Linked DNA regions of Homo sapiens: regions 1, 2, 3 and 5 are each linked to region 4. The links are contacts of gene promoters, found by promoter capture Hi-C in blood cells and fetal thymus (Javierre and others, 2016). All regions are on one chromosome and are shown on one strand. Each heading gives the region's core, a stretch centred on a gene start or on the middle of the fragment in contact. The rest is flanking DNA. Distances are from core to core; before and after follow the strand shown. Region 1 overlaps USP48 (ubiquitin specific peptidase 48). Region 2 overlaps USP48 (ubiquitin specific peptidase 48). Region 3 overlaps USP48 (ubiquitin specific peptidase 48). Region 4 holds the start of HSPG2 (heparan sulfate proteoglycan 2). Region 5 overlaps USP48 (ubiquitin specific peptidase 48).

The links. Contacts are between HindIII fragments. The CHiCAGO score rates a contact against its expected background, and 5 or more counts as called.
Region 1: a contact is called between a fragment that was not itself captured here and the fragment with the promoter of HSPG2 in region 4, in 1 of 17 cell types (erythroblasts). The highest score is 7.7, in erythroblasts.
Region 2: a contact is called between a fragment that was not itself captured here and the fragment with the promoter of HSPG2 in region 4, in 3 of 17 cell types (megakaryocytes, erythroblasts and M1 macrophages). The highest score is 7.3, in megakaryocytes.
Region 3: a contact is called between a fragment that was not itself captured here and the fragment with the promoter of HSPG2 in region 4, in 2 of 17 cell types (megakaryocytes and erythroblasts). The highest score is 9.5, in megakaryocytes.
Region 5: a contact is called between a fragment that was not itself captured here and the fragment with the promoter of HSPG2 in region 4, in 3 of 17 cell types (erythroblasts, naive CD4 T cells and megakaryocytes). The highest score is 6.3, in erythroblasts.

What each region holds. Positions count from the first base shown.
Region 1 is chr1:21,723,552-21,726,320 of GRCh38, reverse strand. It overlaps USP48 (ubiquitin specific peptidase 48), which reads left to right. Exons shown (of 27, transcript NM_032236.8): 12 at 2,226-2,423. Among named protein-coding and RNA genes, the nearest start is that of RAP1GAP, 56 kb to the right of the region's middle. The HindIII fragment of the contact is 1,886 bases long and covers 446-2,331 here.
Region 2 is chr1:21,681,337-21,684,145 of GRCh38, reverse strand. The region is part of intron 25 of USP48 (ubiquitin specific peptidase 48); the gene reads left to right. Among named protein-coding and RNA genes, the nearest start is that of RAP1GAP, 13 kb to the right of the region's middle. The HindIII fragment of the contact is 3,882 bases long and covers 1-2,809 here.
Region 3 is chr1:21,699,841-21,702,540 of GRCh38, reverse strand. It overlaps USP48 (ubiquitin specific peptidase 48), which reads left to right. Exons shown (of 27, transcript NM_032236.8): 22 at 939-1,043. Among named protein-coding and RNA genes, the nearest start is that of RAP1GAP, 32 kb to the right of the region's middle. The HindIII fragment of the contact is 5,242 bases long and covers 1-2,700 here.
Region 4 is chr1:21,935,942-21,938,741 of GRCh38, reverse strand. It overlaps HSPG2 (heparan sulfate proteoglycan 2), which reads left to right and starts at 1,432. Exons shown (of 97, transcript NM_005529.7): 1 at 1,432-1,587. The coding sequence starts at 1,525. RefSeq lists a silencer at 1,044-1,393 and an enhancer at 2,141-2,800. The HindIII fragment of the contact is 13,080 bases long and covers 1-2,101 here.
Region 5 is chr1:21,744,048-21,746,747 of GRCh38, reverse strand. The region is part of intron 8 of USP48 (ubiquitin specific peptidase 48); the gene reads left to right. Among named protein-coding and RNA genes, the nearest start is that of USP48, 38 kb to the left of the region's middle. The HindIII fragment of the contact is 1,200 bases long and covers 741-1,940 here.

The sequences.
Region 1 (2,769 bases), core at 139-2,638, 210 kb after region 4:
TGGAAAATGTTGTCTTGCCTTTGAGCCACATTGTTGCTGGACAGTCAGGGCCACAGTCACCCTAGGCTTTGAATTCCTGCAGACATCCCCTGGCAAGGAGGGCTTTGTGCATTTTGAGCTTTCCTAGATTCCTTTCATTGTGAGGGCCAGGATTCTTAGGGTGTTTTCTTTCAGTTAGCAATAACAGATACTGCTGTCTGTCCACTCCTCCCCAGCTGCTGGGGAAACTAGGATGCCTAGTGACTTATTCTTGAATGTTGCTCTTTATCACAATCCTGTTTTTTCTCCTTTGATAGCCTTCATATTGCTTACCATTTTAATCTAATTGACTGTCCTTGGGAAAAGATGAGAGTATGCTAAGACTTTGATCTTGCTTTCAGAAAGGGATCATTTATCTTTGCATTCCCCAGATACCCAGTGTACTCTATCCCTGGCAGATTAAGCTTGATAAATGGCAAATAAAGTCGGGAGGCATTTTGAATGTAATTAGCCATACCATGATATACTGTAAAGTGCTGCAGCTGTGTTACATATACTGCATCTTAAAGTCTCCTCTTTTTTTTTTTTGAGATGGAATTTCACTCTTGTTGCCCAGGCTAGAGCGCACTGGTGCAATGTCAGCTCACCACAACCTCCGCGTCCCGGGTTCAAGTGATTCTCCTGCCTCAGCCTCCCGAATAGCTGGTATTACAGTCGTGTGCCGCCATGCCCAGCTAATTTTTTGTATTTTTAGTACAGACGGGGTTTCTCCCTGTTGGTCAGGCTGGTCTCAAACTCTGGACCTCAGGTGATCTGCCCGCCTCGGCCTCCCAAAGTGCTAGGATTACAGGCGTGAGCCACCATGCCCAGCCAAGGTCTCCTCTTTTATATATTAAGTTTACGTAAATGTATAATTAACTTTTCCATATCTCTTTTCTTCCAAAAAGCTCAAAATGCTTCACATAGCTTATCTTTTATACTCAACAACATTCCCATGAGGTAGGTAGAAGGCAGGTATTATTACCTTCATTTTACAAATAAAAGACTGGAAACATAGAAAGTTTAAGTGACTTGTTCAGGTTCATTTTCTTGGTAGCAGAACTTGGATTAGACCGTGACCTCGACTCACAGTCCTGTGCTCTTCCTCTGGAGCCACATTCGACTTGACCAGTTAGAAGGCTCTTAGTTGATGATGTACAGTGCCAAATTTTGTTTTCATAAAAATTGAGATGGTTTACTGTAAAATTAAAATGGGAGTTAGTTTTCTAGACATGTAACTCTCTGGGGAGTATAAAACTGGTCACAATGGGCTTTGCGTTGAAGTATCTGTCCCTCAGATCTCATCAGAAGGAGTATATAATACAAAAATATAAATTCAACCTCTGTATGTTTTCTTCTATGTTTTATGCTGGGACTCACTGGAGATCTTTGTAAGTAATCAAAGCTGGCCCTTTATCTTTGATTTTGGCTTTTAGGGAATTCTAGGGACTTCCTTTCCCCAAATTAAAACTCATTTTGAGGTGTTTGGTTTTGTCTTTTAATTTTTGCAACTTCAAAATTGATGACTCAGTTCTAGTGTACTTTATCCTCGAACTTGTTTAAAATAGGTTACTTTCTTGAAATAAATAATAATATAATGAAGAGATCATGACTTGGATTTGGGTGGGGGAATTAAATACCTTTTCAAAATTGCCATCAGTATCATCTTGGATGAAGAAAGTTCAGTGGTTAAAAGCGTCTTCTGAAGTGTGGTCATAGTCGGTGAGGTTTATTTCAGTTTGGCTTCTCATTTTAATTTTCAGATGTATATCACATATATGTGAAAAGTACTGACAAAAATAATTTATGAAATAAACACAGTAGGGCATGAGGTTGTGTTATTTGTGAGGCAGCAATGGAGCATGACTTGTAGTCAACAAACATGGGTGTCCTGATCAAAGCTCTGCTGTGCTATTCGGCAAGACTCTATGTGGATGCCTCTTGTAGAATGTGGTTAATAATACCAGCCGATCTCATAGGGCACTGTGCAGACTCAGCATTATGGTGCACAGCTCCTTGAACTCATAGGAGTGGCACTTAACTGGAGCTTTGTGTCGTACTCATCAAACATCTTCCCCCAGACAATGATTCTTCTGATTCTGCTAACTCTGGACAGAGTTTGCATTGTCTTTTGAGAAAAATGAATGTATCACTTAGTCAAAAAACTGTAAAAATACATAGGCTCTTTCCGATGCTTGCTTTCTCAGAGCCCTATGAGTTTGTCTCTCTGGAATGGCTGCAAAAGTGGTTGGATGAATCAACACCTACCAAACCTATTGATAATCACGCTTGCCTGTGTTCCCATGACAAGCTTCACCCGGATAAAATATCAATTATGAAGAGGATATCTGAATATGCAGCTGACATTTTCTATAGTAGATATGGAGGAGGTCCAAGACTAACTGGTAATTCAAGATGTCCTCTCTGTTTAAAAAAGAGCAGCTCATTAAATCTTCATCTTATGGTCTTTATGAGTGTGGCTTATGATGATTTGACCCAAACTATGCTAGACCAAATATTCCTTACACTTTGCACAAAGGATTTGCTAAATAAAGTAGAAGTTAAGCAACTGATGCTATTCATAGAGGGTTGGTTGGGGTTTTTTGGTTTGTTTTTTTGGTTTGTTTCTTTTAACCCCTCTCAAAGCAGACAAAATAGGACCCTTTTAAGAAAACTGTCTGGTAGTAGTTTGTTACTCTGTGTAATACTGTTTAAGGTACTTGAGCCCTTGTCTGGTTAATTGCAAGTTTG
Region 2 (2,809 bases), core at 301-2,800, 250 kb after region 4:
ATTTATCCAAAGGAAAAGAAATCAGTGTATCGAAAGGATATTTGCACTCTCATGTTTATTGCAGCACTGTTCACAACAGCCAAGGTATGGAATCAACCTACATGTCCATCAGTAGATGCCTTGATATGTTATATTTATATGTAGACATACAATGGGATACTATTATTCAGCCATTAAAAAAATGAAATCCTGTCATTTGCAGCAACATGGGTGGAACTGGAGGACATTATGTTAAGTGAAATAAGCCAGGCTCAGAAAGACAATACTGTATTTTCTCACTCATACGTAGGAGCTAAAAAAGCTGATCTTTTGGCTGTAGAATGGTAGTTATGAGTGGATGGGAAAGGGGCCATATGAAGGGAGGTTGGTTAATGGGTACAAACATACAATTTGATAGAAAGAATAAGTTCTGGTATTCAGTAGTACAGTAGGGTGATATGTTGTATATTTCAAAAGAGCTAGAAGAAAAGATAATGCAATGTTCCCAACACAAAGAAATGATAGGCCGGGCGCAGTGGATCACTTGAACCCAAGAGTTCAGGACCAACCTGGGCAACATAGTGAGACCCTGTCTCTACTACAAATTTTAAAAAAAGAGCCAGGCATGGTGGCTCGCACCTGTGGTCTCAGATACTTGGGAGGCTGAGGTGGGTGGATTGCTTGAGCCGGGGAGTTGGAGGCTGCAGTGAGCTGTCATCATGCCACTACACTCAAGCCTGGGTGACAGATTGAGACCCTGTCTCAAAAAAGAAGAAATAATAAATATTCAAGGTGATGGAGATAACTAAATACCCTGATGTGATCATTATACACTGTATGCATGTATCAAAATATAAGCTGTTCCCCATAAATATGTACAAATATTATGTTTGGCTTTTATTTTTTATTTTTTATTTTTTTGAGATGGAGTCTCAAAAGGCTGAAGTGCAGTATGGCTCACTGCAACCTCCGCCTCTGGGCTTCAAGTGATTCTCCTGGCTCAGCCTCCTGAGTAGTAGCTGGGACTATAGGCATGCAACACCATGCCTGGCTAACTTTTGTATTTTTGGTAGAGACGGGGTTTCACTATATTCGCCAGGCTGGTCTCAAATTCCTGTCGTCAGGTGATCTGCCCATCTCGGCCTCCCGAAGTGTTTGGATTACAGATGTGAGCTATTGCACCTGGCCTTGTTTGTATTTTTTTTAAAGCTGGTTCATGTCCCAGGCACCCTTTAGTCAATCCCACCAGTGCCCACTGAACAGAGCTTTCAGACATCTTTTTTTTTTTTTTTCTGAGATGGAGTCTCACAGTTGCCCAAGCTGGAGTGCAGTGGCATGATCTTGGCTCACTACAATCTCCCCGTCCTGGGTTCAAGCGATTCTTCTGCCTCAGCCTCCCAAGTAGCTGGGACTACAGGCGCCTGCCACCATGCCCAGCTAATTTTTGTATTTTTAGTAGGGACAGAGTTTCACTATGTTGTCCAGGCTGCTCTGGAACTCGTGACCTCATGATCCGCCTGCCTCGGCCTCCCAGTGTGCTGAGATTACAGGCGTGAGCCACTACGCCTGGCCCACAAATCTTTTTAGTACCTCATACTTAAGTAAATATGAGCAGTCAGATAGTTGAGGAATGAGAGCCTGGGACCAAGATATGTCGAGGAAATAGCATAGGAAGCATAAGAAAGCTGGAAAATAACCTATAAATAATGGCAAAAAAAAAAAGCAAACAATAGGAAGAGGAACTATATAAAAGGAACATTTGGAGCATAGAAGAGAGTTCATGGAAATGTAAAAAATGATGGTACCCTGGGTTTGATATAGTAAGTAAAAAACTAAGGGTAAGAGGGTCATGAAAGCATCTAGAAGTAGGAGGGAAAGCCAGTCAAATTCACAGGATGAAGTCAGGAAGATAATAGAGCAGTGCCCGCAAGATCCTGAGGGAAAGCAAGTTCCAATCTATAAGTCTGTAACCCTCACACCTGATGGCCCCTTGAACATATTCAGGGCTTCAAAAGATTGATCTGTCATGCACCGTCTGCCATGATACTGTGTGAGGATGTGTTCTTCTTCTTAAACATTAAATCAAGAAAGAATCAACAGTGGACCCAGTAAATAGCAGATCAGCCTAGGATAAGATGCCCTAGAAGATGGTGAAGGGAAGTCTCAGAACTACTGTTCTTCAGCAGGCAGCGAAGACACCTGATCCATATTGGAGTGGTGGGATGCGAGCTTCAGGAAGGGATGCCACAAGGAAAAGTGGAAGGGATGATGACTGTCTTCAAGAGGTTACAGGTCTTTAAGAATTTACACGTGAATTGGAGATAAATACAGAGAAAATGAAACACATCAGTAATTCAGTAGTTACCAAGCCCAGAAAGACCAAGTCATACCATGTAGTAAATATAACCAAGGTGCACCAAGGCATTCAACTGTGACTAGTATTAATGGCGTAAAAAGTAATGCCAGCGCTGGAGACTGGCTTAACAACAACAAACACCACTTCATCAGGAGGATGGGTCGGGGCAGGTGCTATGTAAGTGGTAAAACAGCTGTTTGTATCCTTCACTGAAGAATTTATTAGATTTTTATCTAAAATTATGAAGTAGGCCAGGCACGATGGCCCACTCCTGTAATCCCATCACTTTGGGAGGCTGTGGCGGGCGGATCACTTGAGGTCAAGAGTTCGAGACGAGCCTGGCCAACGTGGTGAAACCCTGTCTCTACTACAAATACAAAAATTAGCCAAGTGTGGTGGTGGGTGCCTGTAATCCCAGCTACTTGGGAAGCTGAGGCAGGAGAATTGCTTGAACCCAGGAAGCAGAGGTTGCAG
Region 3 (2,700 bases), core at 95-2,594, 240 kb after region 4:
GTGAGGGCATAACAGAAATAAGAGAGGTCAGTTAGAGCCTCTTCCATTGACCTGCAAGGATAGGTGAAATTGATTGGATATGTTTGGGAAGTGGAGGTGTTAATACTTGCTTGGATTGGATTTCCAAGCATTTTTATTATATTAGGGATGGCTCTTGGGTAGATCCTGACCCATATCTCTAGATATCTTATTAATTTATTTAATTCCATGCTTTCTGGGATTAAAGACAAAATGGAATACATTTTATTTGATGCTTGTTTCCAAACACATTTTTTAGAAGGGTAACTTATAATTATGCCCTGGAGGCCAAGGGTTCTGCTTTACAAGCTAAATAAACTAAGGCCTTCATTTCCTAATTTGCCGAGAAAATGAAGTTAATGAGTATAAATGTCTCTGTTTCTCCCTGTAAAATTTTCTTAAATCTTTTGTTCTCTGGTATAAAATATTATCCAATTTAGATGTAGTTTCATTATTCAGTTTAATAAGAGTATTTCATAGTGTTTGCAAGAGAGCGCTTCTTCCATCTTTCGTTTTCTCAATTCTTAAAGAGCATGTAACTCCTGCCACTTGAATAGTTTGAGAACTTGAAAAGGCTTGGCAATCAGTGTGCTCGGGAAGGTGTCAAGCACCTTCGAACTTCTGCAAAATAACATCATTGTACAAGACTGATAATAATAACTGCTCTGCAGAGACCTCTTAAATGTATGGTGAGCACATTAAATACTACAAGAATAAGTCATAGGGTAAAAAACTAACATGTTAAAAGAGCATAGAAAACCGTGAAGGCTTGATTCTTGATCCACTCTCCAGTCTATAATCCCACCATGATAAAGGTGTTCCTCGTCTTGATAAAGGTTGCCGGTCCCAGCCCCCACATCCTCCATAGCCTGCCTTCCTAGGGTCTGACCTACTTCTCTTTGTTGTCCTGGCACATTCAGGTGATGAAGGATTCGGCTCCGGAACTGAATGTGAGTAGTTCTGAAACAGAGGAGGACAAGGAAGAAGCTAAACCAGATGGAGAAAAAGATCCAGATTTTAATCAAGTATGTGTTGAAGCTGCTTTTCATTGTTATACTTTCTGCTGTTCTTATAGAGCAGCCACTCGAAGCCCCTGGCCATGTCTCTGTACCCTGTATGGGATATTGGTTCTTTTTTTTTCTTTTTTTTTTTTTTTTGAGATGGAGTCTCGCACTGTTGCCTGTGCTGGAGTGCAATGGCACTATCTCAGCTCACCACAATGTCCGCCTCCTGGGTTTAAATGATTCTCCTGCCCCAGCCTCCTAAGTAGCTGGGATTATAGGCGCCCACCACCACACCCGGCTAATTTTTTATATTTTTAGTAGAGACGGGGTTTCACTGTGTTGGCCAGGCTGGTCTCGAACTCCTGACCTCGTGATCCGCCCACCGCAGCCTCCCAAAGTGCTGAGATTACAGGCAGGAGCCACCGCACCCGGCCTTTTTTTTTTTTTTTTTTTTGAGATGGATCCTAGCCTTGTCAACCAGGCTGGAGTACAGTGGCACAATCTCGGCTCGCTGCAACCTCCACCTCCCAGGTTCAAGTGATTCTCCTGCCTCAGCCTCCCAAGTAGCTGGGATTACAGGCATGCGCCACCACTCCTGGCTAATTTTTTGTATCTTTAATGGAGACGGGGTTTCACCTAGGCTGGTCTTGAACTCCTGATGTCATGATCCTCCCGCCTTGGCCTTCCAAAGTGCTGGGATTATAGGCGTGAGCCACCGCATCCGGCCCATAAATTGTCTTTTGAGAACAGGAAATCGTGGGAATATGGTTGATGTAGGTGGAGATAAGTTTCAGCTTCTCAAAAAGTCAGACCCCCACATTGGAGGATATTTTGTACTTTAAACTCATGGATTTTCTACTCAAAGTTTTATTTTTAACAGATGAGATGTTTGTTTTCTTTCTTTACTACTAAAATAGTGTAGTGAAATTGTGGATGGTGTTCTCCCTGAAAGAATGAAAGTGTTACAATAGCCATCTGCAATATCTGTGACAGGGCAGAGGTATCTGGGCTTGTTGGCCTGTCTGCATGTTGATACTGTTACTTCATTTTTAACATTGATTGAGAGAGTCTGAAAAGCCGTCTTGATTTGAATCTTGGTGTGCCCAAAATAAATGTTACTTGTGGTTTCCCAACCGGTGTAAAGGGATGTCAGCATTTGTTTTCCGTGGCTTATTGGCGCTCATAAAATAACCTCAAAACACCTGTGAAGAAGCAAAATCATGCAGTTTGTGACAGTGATCAGCCACTCTTTAAGTTGTCCTTCCCAGTCTGTATTTCAGTCAGTCAACACTGGAGGGCCCTTTGCTTCAGTGCTAACCAAATCTGTACACTTGATGAGAATGCAGGTTTTCAGTTTAAAGGGGATATTTTTCTATAGTAAGTGATGCCCTTATTAAACTCTGTGTGCATATATACATCTTGTGCTCCTTGGCATAAGGAACAGGGTAAAGAAGGGCAGCAAAGTCATGTCTGCAAACGCTTGTGGAGACATATTAGTTGACTCTACTAATATGTCTCCACAAGCGTTTGCAGACATGACTTTGCTGCCGCCCTTTACCCTGTTGTCAACTCTGTTTTCATGTCCCCATCTCTGTGGCGGGGACATCTCTGTGGTCTATACAAGCCATCTTTCGAGCCACATTTGTGCAAACTCGATTGTGTGCTTTTCAGTTGATAT
Region 4 (2,800 bases), core at 183-2,682:
AGGGGAGCTGAAGAGTAGGCAGTGAATAGGTCTGGGGGCTTGGTGCTGTTTGCTGCCTGCGGTTGGGTCAGAGACAGATCATGGGGCTGTGATTTTACCACCCACCCGAGCATCTGTGATGGGGCTTTGGCAGGGTCTGTCTGTCTGGGCCTGAGTGTGTGAGTTGGTGTGGTTCTGGCTCTGGGGCTGTGATTTATGTGACTCAAAGTTGGTGTGTGAGTGATTTACATGGAAAATGGTGCAGGTGGGGTGGGCAGCTCAGTTCAGTACCCAGTGCCCACTATGAGGCACTGTGATTAGTGGGTGAGAACAGGTAAAAGATACAGGCTGAGGCTGGGTGCGGTGGCTCAATGCCTGTAATCCCATCACTTTGGGAGGGCAAGGCGGGCAGATCACAAGGTCAGGAGTTCGAGACCAGCCTGGCCAACATGGTAAAAACCCCATCTCTATTAAAAATACAAAAATTAGCCAGGCGTGGTGGCACGCCTGTAATCCCAGCTATTCAGGAGGCTGAGGCCGGAGAATTGCTTGAACCCGGAGGCGGAGGTTGCAGTGAGCCAAGATCCCACCACCGCACTCCAGCCTGGGGACAGAGCGAGACTCCTTCTCAAAAAAAAAAAAAAAAAAAAAAACAAGCTGGTAAGCATGTAGGCAATGATGTGGGCCTGTGTGTGAAATGTGCGTGCCTGCGAGGAATCTATGTGAAAAGGCGTCCTCCCGCTCCGTGACTTGTTGGGATGTATGCGTGAGTGAGGGGCTGAGTGTGGTGTGAGGGCTGTCTCCTGTGTCCCTGGTGGAGGTGAGAGTTTGGAAGCGAGTTAAGTGTGCATGTGAGCCGGTGAGGATTGTTGGTACTTCAGAGTTGGGTCCAGAGTGTGAAAGTGTTCCCGGGTAGCGCACAAGTGTGTTCGTGCAGTAAAGTTATGGTGTGAAGGTGTTCTTGGGTGTGGAAGTTGGCGTGCACGTGTGGCGCGGAGCGGCAGCTGCGTGCGTGTGAGCGTGGGAAGGAGATCCCGGGATCTTCAAAAGCTGCGCGAGTGGAGTCGGCCGTGCGGGGCGTGCAGGGGCGTGGAAGTCGGCGGCGCGCGCGGGGAAGCGGGGGAGCCGGGGATCGGGGAGGCGAGAGCGCCTGGCCCGGCGGCCCCATCCCATGCCCGGGCCCGGGCCCCCGGTCCCCCGCCCCGTCCCATCCCATACTCCAGGCCGGGTTTGGCGGGGAGCCGGGCCGGGCCGCGGCCCGCGCGGAGGGGGCTGGGGGCCCAGACAAAGGCCTAGTAGGCTGCGCGGCCGGCTGGGGCGAGCAGAGCCCGCGGCCCGGGGGCGGTCCGTGGGCGGGGCCTGGCGCTCCGGGGAGGGGCGGTTCGGGGGCGGGGCCGGCGCTGCGGGGGCGGGGCGGGCGGGGAGGAAAGGGGGCGGTGGGGAGAGGGCCGCGCTGTCCCGAGCTGGCCGGCGAGCGGGCGGCTGCGGGCGGCGCGGAGCGGGCGGCGCGGAGCGAGCGAGCGAGAGAGCGGCGCGGGCCGGGCCATGGGGTGGCGGGCGGCGGGCGCGCTGCTGCTGGCGCTGCTGCTGCACGGGCGGCTGCTGGCGGTGAGTGTGCGGGGCAGAGGGGCGGGGGGCGGGGGCGGAGGGGCTAGGGGCGCCCCGGTCCCGCTCGCCGCCTCCCGCCAACTTGGCTGGGGCGCCCAAGGCTGCGCGGCGGGGACTCTGGCCCGGGACGGCGGCGCCCGCCGGGGACCCCGGGCCGGCGCCACCCTGCGGCATGGGGCTAATCCAGGGGGGCCACCAGTCAGGACCCTTCGTGGGGCTGGGGGCGGGGCTGGCCCGTGTGGGAGCCCGTGGGTCTCTCGGCCACGTTGCCGAGTGCTGGAGTCTCGCTGGGCATGGTCCGGCCTACCATTCCTGGGGACCAGGAGGGGAAACTTTGAGCAGGGTGGGAACTTGGCAGGACGAGGGAACCCTTCTGCGCCAGCTTGGCAGAACGGCCACTCAGTGGTGATGGGGACCCTATGAGTCTCGCTGAAACTTTACCACACCGTCTATCACCTTGGGGAGCTTGGACCCAGGTAGGCACAAGCAAAACTTTTGGGACAGAACTGAAGCTTGTGTGGAACACCCACGGGCCTTGGAGTCATACAGCCGAAGAGTTGAATCAATCCCTGCCTTTCACTGAGTAACTGTGTGACCTGGGGCACGCTAGTTAACCTCTCTGAGGCCAGCCCCACGTGGGTCAAGGGAACTCAAAATGCACGGCCTCAAAATGCATAGCTGCAGGGCGTTGCTGGACTGCGTGGAATGAGCTGCAAAGTGCGTGGTGCGGGGATGCAGTGCACCCTTGGGGGACCCGAGTTCCCCAGCTTTCCTCTTCCCAGGTCTCCAAGAGGCAGGGAGAGGCCTGCCCTTGCAGTCTAGTCCCCTACTCTGAGCTTAGGTGGAGGAAAAGGGAATTCTACGGTCAGGAATCCCGAGGCTTAGAAGGCACTTGGCCAGCAGAGGCCCTGAGGACCTGAGTGAACTTGAGGAGGACTGGGTGGGGTCGGTGGGCAGGGAGCTAGTGGCAGATGTGGGTGGGGGCACATCTGGGGAGCCGAGCCTACCGTGGGGAGCCACAGAGCCACCCCCACTCTCTCCGAGGTGCTCCTAGGCAGTCCCCATACCTGCCTCCCTGTTCTCTGAGCCAAGAGAGGGACTTTTCTAACCAGGCTGGTGTTTACCCAGGAACTGCCTGCCTGGCCTCACCTTCCTGGCTTCATCGCACCTCTACCCTCCTGAGTCACTCGTCAAGCCCCCACCCAGACCTGGC
Region 5 (2,700 bases), core at 91-2,590, 190 kb after region 4:
TATCATTTCTCAAAACTAACAGTCTCCAAGCGCCTCTATTCACTTTTTTAAAAACGTTGTCCCAGAAACATTAGGTGGCATAATTCCAGTATTTATGCTTTCATTTTTCATATCTGCAACTACTGATACGCCCTAGGATGCTATCATTGTTTTAACAAGAAATAAGTACTGCTTTTTTCTTTTGGTAGTCTTCATCCTACCAAACAGGTTGAGTCTTACTAGAGAAAGGACTGTTTTACTTCCCTTTAAGGTTGATTGTAGTACTTATAAAATATTATGTATGTATGTATGTATTTTTGAGACGGAGTCTTGCTCTGTTGCCTAGGCTGGAGTGCAGTGACACGATCTCAGCTCACTGCAACCTCAGCCTCCCTTGTAGCTGGGAGGCTACAAGGGAGCCCAGCTAATTTTTGCACTTTAGGGTTTTGCCGTGTTGGCCAAGCTGGTCTCAAACTCCTGGCCTCAAGTGGGACACCTGCCTTGACCTCCCTAAGTGCTGGGATTACAGGCGTGAGCCACTGCCCCCAACCTGAAATTTTTAATGTAGAAATTATTTTATAAACTCTATCTCTTTCCAAAAAAATAAAAAATTTCTAGAGGCAGCTTACAATGGAAGCAAGCTGTAAAAACCTTTAAGAGACATTTCTGGAGGCAGCTTACAATGGAAGCAAGCTGTAAAAACCTTTAAGAGACATGATTGGGAAAGTTGGGGAGGAATGTGCTAAATAAATATGTAAGCTTTCAAATGTATGATACTCTTCAGTACTGTACTTTAAAATTTGTACCTCTGTGGAACAAGGAAACTGTTTTCAACTTCAGTTTTGGACTTCAATGTTAGATTGTTAAATTTTGTTGAATAAATAAACTTAGCTATAGTTCACTTTATGTAGTAGTTTGCTTCCTGCCTCCTTTGTTCAGGCAATTGAAATTGAGGAAAATCTAATGGGTTAGTGGCTTCCCAGTCCAGAAACTTAGGAGATGTGAAATGAGCACTTTGCTTGACTTGACTGGATGAGTTTGAATTGTTACTATTACTACTTACTAAGTTTATTATATATTTGCCCAGTTTATGCTATAAAGAAAATATTTATCAAAAGGACGTGTTAGATCAAAACCTGTAGAAATACTTAATTTTGGTATGTTGGTTTACTAAATATAGTATTTTTTATTTTTTATTAATTTGTTTTTGAGACAGGGTCTGGCTCTGTCGCCCAGGCTATAAATTGCATTGATGTGATCACGGCTCATCACGGACTCAGCCTCCTGGGCTCAAGCTGGAACTACAGGCATATTCCACCAGGCCCAGCTAATTTTTAGTTATTTTTTTTTAGAGACGGGGTCTTGAACTCCTGGGCTCTAGTGATCCTCCTACTTCAGCCTCCCGAAAGTGCTGGGATTACAGGCATGAGCCACCATGTTTGTCTCCTTAATTTTTAAATAAATGAATGAATAAATAAATAAATAAATATTATCTACTCATTTTAGAATTGTTAGGACTGGTAAAAGCAATCTAGTGGTTTATAGTTATAGGCTTGTCTTTTACACGCTGTCGTAATGCTTGCTGTACCTTATATAGGTAGAAGACTAAAAACAATTAACTTTTGTTAATTGCATAGGATTTGTTCTAGATAATTTGGGAAATTCAGAAAGCATAAAGAAAAGAAATACAAACCATATGTAATTTTGTCATCCAGATAATTAGTATTTATATTTTCCCGTACCCACACATAACCACACAAATCTGTACACACATATCCATGCAAAGCTCAAAAGATGGATCCAAAAGAAGATCTGTTGTTAAAAGGAGAATCCACCTGTTTCTTTAAATGGTGAGACTGCAGATATGCAGACATCTTTAGAATGAGGGATCCTCATTTTTGAACATTAGCCCCTGACTCTCAAACTCAAGTCTTGCCATATTCCTTGGGGACTTAAAAGCTTAGCATTTTTTTTTTTTTTTTTTTTTTTTTAGAGATAGAGTTTCATTCTGTTGCCCAGGCTGGAGTGCAGTGGCATGATCTCGGCTCACTGCACCCTCCATCTCCTGGGTTCAAGCAATTCTCCTGCCTCAGCTTTCCGAGTAGCTGGGATTACAGGCGCCTGCCACCATGCCTGGCTAATTTTTTGTATTTTTAGTAGAGACGGGGTTTCACTGTGTTGACCAGGCTGGTCTTGAACTCCTGACCTCAAGTGATCTGCCCGCCTTGTCCTCCCAAAGTGCTGGAATTACAGGCGTGACCCACCGCACCTGGCCTAAAAACTATGTTAATTCTGAAGTTTTTTTCTTTTTCTGTTTTTTTTTTTGAGACAGAATTTTGCGTCGCCCAGGCTGGAGTGCAGTGGTGCAATTTCGACTCACTGCAGCCTCCACCTCCTGGGTTCAAGCAATTCTCTCTGCCTCAGTCTCTCGAGTAGCTGGGACTACAGACGCATGCCATCGTACCTGGCTAATTTTTGTATCTTTAGTAGAGATGGGATTTCGCCATATTGGCCAGGCTGGTCTCGAGAACTCCCAACCTCAGGTGATCTGCCCACCTCGGCCTCCCAAAGTGGTGGGATTACAGGTGTGAGCCACCACGCCTGGCCTTAATTTTAAAATTGATTAGTTCAATGAATTGATGAATATAAATCCAGGTTATCTGCAAGAATGGTAATGTCAACATTTTTAATGCTGTCTATTGGTAATAAAGACAGCTACTG